2 separate regions of the Homo sapiens genome follow, and region 2 is linked to region 1. Evidence: promoter capture Hi-C in 16 types of primary human blood cells and fetal thymus (Javierre and others, 2016). All regions are on one chromosome and are shown on one strand. Each heading gives the region's core, a stretch centred on a gene start or on the middle of the fragment in contact. The rest is flanking DNA. Distances are from core to core; before and after follow the strand shown.

Evidence for each region. Contacts are between HindIII fragments. The CHiCAGO score rates a contact against its expected background, and 5 or more counts as called.
Region 2: a contact is called between a fragment that was not itself captured here and the fragment with the promoter of SNX9-AS1 in region 1, in 1 of 17 cell types (naive CD4 T cells). The highest score is 6.7, in naive CD4 T cells.

Annotation. Positions count from the first base shown.
Region 1 is chr6:157,890,426-157,895,203 of GRCh38, forward strand. It overlaps SNX9-AS1 (SNX9 antisense RNA 1), which reads right to left and starts at 2,457. Exons shown (of 2, transcript NR_183542.1): 1 at 2,268-2,457. All of the region lies in intron 4 of SNX9 (sorting nexin 9), which reads left to right. The HindIII fragment of the contact is 5,913 bases long and covers 1,554-4,778 here.
Region 2 is chr6:157,376,033-157,380,810 of GRCh38, forward strand. LOC124901446 reads right to left here. Exons shown (of 1, transcript XM_047419644.1): 1 at 3,282-4,778. The coding sequence starts at 4,669. The coding sequence ends at 3,779. Among named protein-coding and RNA genes, the nearest start is that of ZDHHC14, 2.8 kb to the right of the region's middle. RefSeq lists enhancers at 3,482-4,094, 4,706-4,778 and silencers at 4,296-4,375, 4,536-4,778. The HindIII fragment of the contact is 1,650 bases long and covers 1,798-3,447 here.

The DNA.
Region 1 (4,778 bases), core at 1,207-3,706:
CTATTTGCATTATGAGGAGAGGATAGCTTTTAAATTTAGAACGTTAAACCAGCAAATTGTTAGTATATTGCTCCTGGGCCTAAAGGGGCATTTGATTTAGCTGGGGTGGGAGTTAGGAAGAGAGTCGGACATAATCATCTACCTGTGGTGATTACATAGATTTAAGCGTGTCCCAGAGACCCAACCAGACATGCTGTAGGAGTGTATTCATTCAACAGATACTTAATTTACAAAGCGTTTACCCAGGGCCCCACGTTCACGGGCAGCAGGAGATGGCAGGTTACCCTGATGGACACAGCCCTTCTCTGTGTCCTTCTAATGGAGCTCAGACGAGAGTGATTGTATATGTCGATTTTGTTTGTTGCATTTTCCAATGTTTGTTAAAATTTCAAGCATAGAAGAGTTAAACGAATTTCATAGTGAATAATCATATACCCACCTTCTAGATTTTACCATTCCCATTTTACTGCTCTTGCTTTCTCTCATATTTGCCCATTCCTCCATCTCCTGTGCCTGTCTGTATCATCCACTTTCAGAACTCAGACACTGTTATTTTAAGGGTACTCATAGTGTCACATGCTAAAAATTCTTTTTTCTTTCTCTTTTTTTTTTTTTTTTTTTTTTGAGACAGAGTCTCACTCTGTCACCCAGGCTGGAGTGTAGTGGTGTGAACTCGGCTCACTGCAACCTCCGCCTTCCAGGTTCAAGCGATTCTCCTGCTTCAGCCTCCCAAGTAGCTGGGATTATAGGCTCCTGCCACCACACCCGGCTTTTTGTATTTTTAATAGAGATGGGGTTTCACCATGTTGGCTAGGCTGGTCTCAAACTCCTGACCTCAAGTGATCCTCCTGCCTCAGCCTCCCAAAATGTTGGGATTACAAGTGTGAACCGCTGCGCCTGGCCAAAAATCATTTTTTCTGTAGTCACATGCTGAAAATCACTTATTCTGTGATCGACCACAACAAGTTAATTTTTTCAAAAAGACTCAATTTAGTCTTTTTATACATAAGGCAAAGTCTTAGTATACATAGTCTTAGTATACATAAGGCAAATCTGATTTCCTCCTTTTGGTGATCATGTCATGAAGGTTAGAGGTCTGACAAAGAGTAAGATATATTTCATACAAATGATCAAGAACATCACATTTAAAATATTTGAGTCCTTGCCACTTTATGCAAGGCATTTGGAGAATCTTTTGGGGGAAACATTCTCCGGGTAAGACAGAGCTGTCCCCGTGATTCACTGGTGGGACTGACCATCTGATTTGCAAATAATGAAGAAAGTGAAAGGAGGCGGCTGGATGTCAGCCAGCAGGCTGTGGGAAGGCCAGAGCCCTTCTGATGGGGTAGGGCTTTGCTAAATTGAGGAAGATGAGGTGTGCAGATAAGAGTACAGTATAGTGTGAGGAACAGCAGAGATGTAGAAAAGTTTGGGGAAATGTGTGAAGTTTGAAGCTTCAGAGTGAAGGTTAGTGGCAGGTAGGGAGAATGGGGAATGCAGCACGAGGCAAAGTTGAGACCTGTGCTGAAGAAACTCCTGATTGAGCCACAGGAAGCTTGGAGGTGACTCTAGGGGCAGTGAGTGCTAATGAAGGGATTTTAATTACCCATGATGGACAGTTAAGAGCTTTGCAAAATAAGGAGTGGGAAGAGAAAGAGGATGAAGATGCTGCTCAGTAGAAAGGAAGAGGAGGGAAAGGTGGAAGGAAAGGACAGAGAGGCGCCACAGGATGGAAACCTCAGCCCAGGAGCTGAATAGGTTTTACCGTGACGAGGTGTCTGTAGTTAGGGAACTACCAAGGGGATTTGGGAGTTGAGAGTGAAGAAGGCAGAGATCGACGTATGGGAAGGATGGGTTCAGAGAGAAAGCCAGTGATTGGTTACAGTTAAGAGGGGAAGGGACCTGCCAGGGCAGTAAAAGGCCATCTGCTGAGGGACTGAGTCCGAGGGCCGTGACGGAAGCTGCAGGAAAGATCTCCAGTTGGTAGGGTTTTGAGAAATGTGTTATCAGCAGGAGTTGGGTTGAAACAAGATAAAGAGAGCGTTCCAGGAAAAAAAAAAACAAAACCAAAGAGATAGAAACAAACATAACCACAAAGATTTCATAACTTAGGTGGAGAGCTAAGATCACATACATAACCAACTAGTATGACAGTTACTACACACCTACAAATTATTGACCAAGTGATTTTCAAAGAACAATTATTTGTTTTTGCCCTAATTAAATGGATTTTAATTTTTTGAGGACACTTGCTATGAATAGTTCACCTCCAGGTTTTTCCTCCATCTTGATGAAAATCCTTCCTGGCCAGTTTGCTAAGACTGAACTGTCTTCTGGAAGGCCCCAGCGAACATTCACTCTCCTGTTCTAGCTCACAGTCCTGTGTTCCTTTGTGATGTACCTCACTTAGCTTCTGGCAGTCTTCTGAATCCAGACCACTCACTTCTGAACTCTAGCCCGAGGTTACACAGCGGAAGAGAGGTAGAGCTGTTAACGGAATTCCAACTCACTAGGCTCTTGACTGTGGCCCTCCGAGCCCCTCCATTTCACAGCCGGTCCTTGATGGAAACCAGGCTGAGGCTGCTGTACCAATGATAGTCTGTCCCTAGTGTCCCAAACTTTGGTACTTTTTCAAGTTCTTATTTGAAAAAACTTGTAACTTAGAGTTTGGAGGACACGGAATATATTGCTAAATAGGAGAATAAAACTACATTTCCTTAAAGAAAACTGTAGAAGGAAGGGTTTCTCTTAGCTGAAGTGTGACTGCCAGGCCCTCAGCATGATTGCCTTCATTTCCAGCGTCCACTGGGGTCATCTGAGAGTCCATCCCGAAGCCGAATGTCACCTTGTAAAGCTGTGTGTTTGAGAAGTCACAGTCTTGTGGATGAAACATCTTTCTCCTGTTAGTATTTGACATAGAGTAAAATAACAAGTAACTTCAGTTTTTTCCTTAGAGGTATATAGGGCAGTAGAATGACATCATACTTGCACATCAAAAGCATGTAGTCTGTTTTTGATGCACCTGGCACGTGACAGCCAGCTGTCTGCCCCATGTGTCGGTTGGTGAAGAGTCAAAACAGACCAGCCACTAGGGTGTCTGTCCTACAACATTAGGGGCTATATTAGACAGGGTGGGTAATTTTCTTGCAATTATATTTTTTTCTTTTTTTAACTAGCACCATTTGTGTGTGTGTGTGTGTGTGTGTGTATAAGACTCAAATAAAGGGGAAGACTTGCTATTTCATGTTATGAAATAGATTCAGTACTGAAATATTGTGGAGTGAAAGGCATGAATAATTTTAATCAATTTTCTATGAATTCAGTAAACAGTGATTCAAATGAAAATCAGTATTTTAACTCAACATTCTAATGTGAAAGTTCAGATTGTTTTAGTTTAAATATTAAGCTGATGCTAAAGTTTATACATAAAAATAAACAGCTAAGAGATGTTATGCTAAAGTATTGATGGTTTTTCTATGAAAGTGTGGTACTAGTACAAATAGATCACTAAGAAACAAGAGAGTCCAGCTATAGACCCAAATCTGATATGTGATGAAGGCGGCATTTCAAATCATGGGGGAAAGATGGATTGTTCATGAAATGGTATTAGGGTGACCGACTGAGGACAAGATGTTCAGCTGGATCCCTGTATCATTTCTTTTTCTTTTCGCTTTTCTTTTCTTTTTTTTTTTTTTTTTTTTTGAGACAGAGTCTCTCTGTGTCGCCCAGTCTGGAGTGCAGTGGCGTGATCTCAGCTCATTGCAATCTCCGCCTCCTGGATTCAAGCAATTCTCCTGCCTCAGCCTCCCAAGTAGCTGGGATTACAGGCGCCCACCACTACACCTGACTAATTTTTGTATTTTTAGTAGAGATGGGGTTTCACCGTGTTGGCCAGGCTGATCTCAAACTCCTGACCTCAGGTGATCCTCCCGCCTCGGCCTCCGAAAGTGGTAGGATTATAGGCATGAGCCACTGTGCCCGGCCCCTATATTATTTGTTTTACTTAACTCAGTTCCAGACAGATACAAGATTTAAATGTTAAAAAAAAAAAAAAAAAAAAAGCTAACAAAAAACTGTATTTGCCTCAAGGGTGGGATGGTGGGGGCAGGGCTAATAGGTGCTAAGTGTACTCTCTACTGGAATATTCTTTGAGATTGGGTGCCATCTATTTCCCATTCCAAAAGTTTATTTGTAAGATTAATAATTAAACTATTAAATTACTCAAAGGAATTATGGGAGAGAAATACTTTTTAAAAAGAAGTATGAAAGTCCCTTTCTATGTAAGACAAAACCCCTCAGCGTGACAGTTGTCAGAATGTGGGAATGTTATTGCATTCTCTTTCAAAAGCAATTTGACAAAATCCATCGGTTCTAAATACACAGTCTCCTTAAGCCTAGCATTTTTTCTTCTGGAAATTTCAGAGACCTTTTGGATTGCAGTTTTCATCTAAAGAACCACCAGGATGGCTGATTAATAGAAAGGAGAGGTTTATAGGCAGTAACATTTTACAGACTGGGAAGAGACCTTCTCTGGTGTGTGCTGAAGATGAAGGGACACATTGGGTTTTATGCCTCACAGGGCCTGTATCACACTAGAGTCACATATATTTAGGAGTTTGGGGGCAAAGCGATACGTATGTATGAGAGGAGTCAAGAGCATGTGCAGTAGGTAAACATATGTAACATCCATCCTTGTTGACTTTGAGGTGAGATTTTAGCATTAAAATGAGGTGGAATTGGGCTCTTTATGTGAAAAGGTGAACTGTGGGACACAGTTT
Region 2 (4,778 bases), core at 1,373-3,872, 510 kb before region 1:
CCACAAAACTGGTCCTTGGTGCCAAAAAAGTTGGGGACCACTGCCCTAGAGGGTCCGATTTCGGTGGCCCACCATGGTAGCTTGCTCGATAGCGCATGCTTTATTGGTTTCTTTTCCCTCCCTATCTCACTTCCTCACTCTTCTGCTGGTGTTTTCTGCAATCCCCTCCCAAATAAACTAATTGTGCTTGGATCCCTGTCAGTTCTACTCCAGCTAGAAACATCATGCACTTTCCCAATAATTTACTTTTCTGTACCCATCCCCATTTCCCTGAGAGACTAACCCTTTCATATTCTTCCTGTCCAAACTGTCAAGGTCAGAGGTGCACTTTGCTACAGGCTGGGCCTGAGATTTCTCTTCACTCTGAAATCAAGATGATTTCTCTATTCCACTCAGTTGTTGGTTCATCAGACCGCGTGCTCTTTCCATTGTGTGGGGGATATAGGAAAGCTTGAGTCAGACATTCATACCTGGCCTAGAATCTTGACTCTATTACTTACTTACTGCAAAACCCTGGGCAAATCACCTAACTTCTCTGATCTTCAGTTTCCTCCTCTGTGAAATAAAGATAATAATCCCTGCCTCATCAGGTTGTCCTCCGGATTTAATGATCTAAATGTATAAAGAACCAGGAGATTGACTAATACAAAAATACTCTGGAGAAAAGATCATTATTTTTATAATATCGTTCTCTTGTATTATTGAATTTCTCATGTGCCTCCATCTTGTTTCCCAACCTTAACTGTAGTTTCTCTGCCGCATTTACCTTCATCATACTGACCTGCACGTGACAAGCACTAAACATTATCAATTTTCTAAAGCTTTAAAGTGCTAAAAGAAAAACTTCAGCTGAATTCAATTTAAAATAGTTTAACTGAGCAAAGAATGATTCATGAATTGGGCAGCCTCCTGAGCCAGGGTAGCCTCAAAGACTGCAGTGCAGTCGCGTGGTGGAAGAGAATTTATGGACAGAAAAAAGAAAGTGACGTACAGAAAGCGGAAATGAGGTACGGAAACAGCCAGATGGTTACAGCTCAGCATTTGTCTTATTTGAACATGGTTTGAACAGCTGGCCACAATTGAGTGGCCAAAACTCAGTAATTGACACCCGAGTAGATCACACTCTGTTTACACTTCCATTTAGGCTACAGTTCAGTGTACAGAGAAACCTTTAGGCCAAACTTAAAATATGTAAAGAGGCAGTATTAGGCTAAACCCCATTTAGCAAAAGTAGATCATGCACTCTTTCAATTCAATTCAAGACTCATTTTTGGATTATTTGTTATTGGCGAGGCATTCTCAAGGAATTTTTAGCAGGTCTTTTGACTTTTCAGTGTCCTTGTTTGAGAAATACAAGTTTTGGTCTCTAATTCTAGATACGCTGACGTCCCTCTAGCATTAAAGTTTGGAATCTATACATTCCTGGAGGGCAAGGACGGTGATTTTTCTTTCAGACCCCTCAACACTTACACCGATGGTGGGTACAGAGTGTGGCATACAGAATTGATGCTGGTGCACACAGAATGAATTCCTGTTCCTTTTTCCCTCTCTCCCTGGCCCTCGCTCCACTCCAGCCAGACTGGTTTTTCTTTGTACCCCTAGAATTTTCCAGGTTGTTCTGCCTTGAGGACTTGGTACTTGCCCCTTCCCATCATTCGATTCTCTGCCCGACCCCAGTCTCTCCATCCCATAACCCTGCTTTGTTTTTTCGTTCTTGTAATTACTCTCTGAAATTGTCTTACTAGTCATTTATTTATTTGTTTATTCTCTCCACCTCTCCCCCAGTCCCCAAATATAAGCTTCTATCTTGGATCTTTTTGTATCACTGCTGCTAAAACAGTACTTAGCACAATCTAGGCCCTGAAATAGATAACTGTAAAATAAATGAATAAACTCTACCATCCCTTATACAGTAGGTTTTACAGTCATCCCTCAGTATCCTCAGGAGATTGGTTCCAGGATCACCTGCGTATACCTGAATCTGCACATATTCAGGTCCTTAAACAGGCTCCACAGAACCTGCATATAGGAAGAGTGGGCCTTTGCCCTCTGAATACTCGCATTTCCCATCCCACGGATGCTGTATTTTCCATCTGCATTTGGTTGAAAAAAATCCGTGTCTAAGGGCATCCACGCTGTTCAAACCCATATTGTTCAAGATCAACTGTAGCTGGTGAGGTGAACTCTGCAGCTATCACACACCAGGTTCTAGTGAACGCTCTTAGGGGAGGGTAACCCATACAAGTGAATTAACCGCAGAGGTCTTAGTACACATGGAGTGGGAAGAAAAAAGTTATCCCCTGGAAGACAACTACAGACAATTGTATCAGCTATTTAGAAATCATATCAGCATATCTTATTTGCTGTGGAAACTTTAGGTAACATTTTAAAACGAATTCATTTCTTTTTATTATGGAAAATGTCAAACATAAACATGAGTAGATGTGGTAGGTAAGAAAAGCATAATGGACTCTCATGTACACTGTGGTGGATGCACTCCGGGGTGTCCCTCACCCTAGGGTTCATGCCCTGTGTACTCCTCTCCCTTTGAGTGTGTGCAAAACATGCTTTCTGGCCAACAGAATGTTCACATTTGAAGTTGCCCCCGTGGGATTGCTTTATGTTATATAAAATTCTGTCTTGCTGGAGACTCACTCTGGGGACTCTCCTTGCAGGCCTGACAAAATAAGTGGCTGTGCTCGGAAAGCCCAAGTGACAATGAAGTCCAGGTAACCTCTAGGAATTGCAGGTTCCCTCTTGGAGCTGAGGACAGTCTCCAGTCTCCAGCCAGCAAGAAGCCAGGGCCCTCGGTCCTACTGCTGCAAGGAAAGGAATTTTGCCTGTGCCCGGAGTCAGAGTGGAAGCCAGTTCTTCTCCAGTGAATGTGAACGCAGCCTGGCCAGCCCCTTGATGGCAGGCGTGAGACCCTAAGTGGGGGACTGAGTGTACCTGGACACCTGATCCATAAAAACTGTGAGAAAAATCTGTCTTGTTTTAAGGCCACTACGTTTGTGGCAATTTGCAGCAATAAATAATTAAGTACAAGTACATGTCACCCAAGGTCAACTATTTTCAACAGTTTCCAATTGTTTCATTTATACCTCCATGTCTGGAGCTGGGTGGGTGGGAGGAGGGGAGTGGATGGGCTGGTGTGTTTTAAAGCACATTTCAGACTTTATATTATTTCGCTGGCAGATACTTTAGTACATATCTCTAACAGACAAGGAAGGACTTTTTAAAAGCATAACCATAATGCCAGAAAAATTCGGTTTCATTGAGAATAAGAGTGGGAGTCTTTTTTAATGCCATCAAATCAATGGATCTATTATATTAATTGGACACCCACAGAAAAGGTGCTTGCAATAAACAGAATAAGAATAATACCCCGTTGATCTCATTAGCTAAAGGACAGGAAAGCATATGAGAGCTTTCACTTGAAATGTATGAAGCTTTCCAGTTGGTTTTTTAAAACTAGTCCAGCCACAAATACTTAATTGTCCCTGTAATATGCTTGTCTCTCATACAATATCTAAAATAATTAAAACCCAATTATTATCGTGTGCTTAAGATCCATTCTCCCTAGACTCTAACCGGCTTTGGAATGGACCCCTGTAAATTTCACTTGTATTCAAAACTCCTTGTAATTGCATGTCATACTCTAATTGCTATTCCCATCACTTTTTCCTTACCACAGCTCCTCCCAACTGGCCCTCTTGGATAAGCCAATCTCATCCCCCTTCGACACTCCTCACTGAGGCACGCTTTGTAAGGGACATACTTAGGGCTCTGGGTTCGATGCCATCTCTACTACTTGGGAGCTTTGTGATGTTTGGCCAGTAGTTAAGCTTTCTCTAAGCTGGATACAATAATGCCTCACCGGGTTCCGGCGAAGATTAGACAAAGAACATGTGTAACGTGCAAACTGCCCAGTACAGAGAAGGCACCGTTCCCCACAACCCCCTTTGTTGGTTCCCATCTCCCACCACCTAGCCCCAGAACGCCCAGCACCACGCCTCTCCTGCCCTTGTCGCGGGGGATGCAGGGACTTGTAGTTTCTAAGGCCCCGAGTCGTGCTTCTCCTCGGCGCAGGCCTGCGGGCGGAAGAACTACACATCCCAGTGGGCTGTGAAAGGAAAGTGGGGCTCGGGAAATTGAGCATCCCTGCCCAGCTGCCTTCGTTTTCTGCGGCCCCGGGGCTATGCCCACCTCTGCGGGGGCTCGGACCCGCGGCAACGCCTGGGAGGGCGCGAGCGAGCAGAAGCCCCAGGCTCCGGCCGTCCCAGGGCCGCGCCCGCAGCTCCTCCTGGGCTGTCGGGTGGGAAGGGGGGAGGCGCAGGCGGGAGAGGAGAAGCACGCGACCCCTCCGCTGCCGAGGGGGCTCCACGGGGGAATGGAGGGAGAAATAAAGCGAGCAGCTGTAAACGTCCGTGGGGAGAAGTGGAGACCGAAAGAGCTGGGCGGCAGCAACCCAAAACCTGGCCTCCAAGGGCTTATACTCCGGGAGGGAGGCCGGGGCCGGAGGGGACCCTGACCGCTTCCTCTGCCCTTCTTTCTCGGCCCGGAAGCCGGCCGAGCCGGGCCCCGAGACCCTCGCCCGCAGCCCGGTCCCGAAGTCAGGCCGGCCTAGGGCCGCCCCACCCCATCCTGGCACCCGGCACCCCCAGCCCATTTCTCGGGCATCACCAGAGTCCCCGGGCGACGCGACCACGCGCCCAGCTGGGGAGGAGGAAGAAGGGAGGCGCAGGCCGGGGAGGGTCACCTCCGCGCCGCGGCTCCTC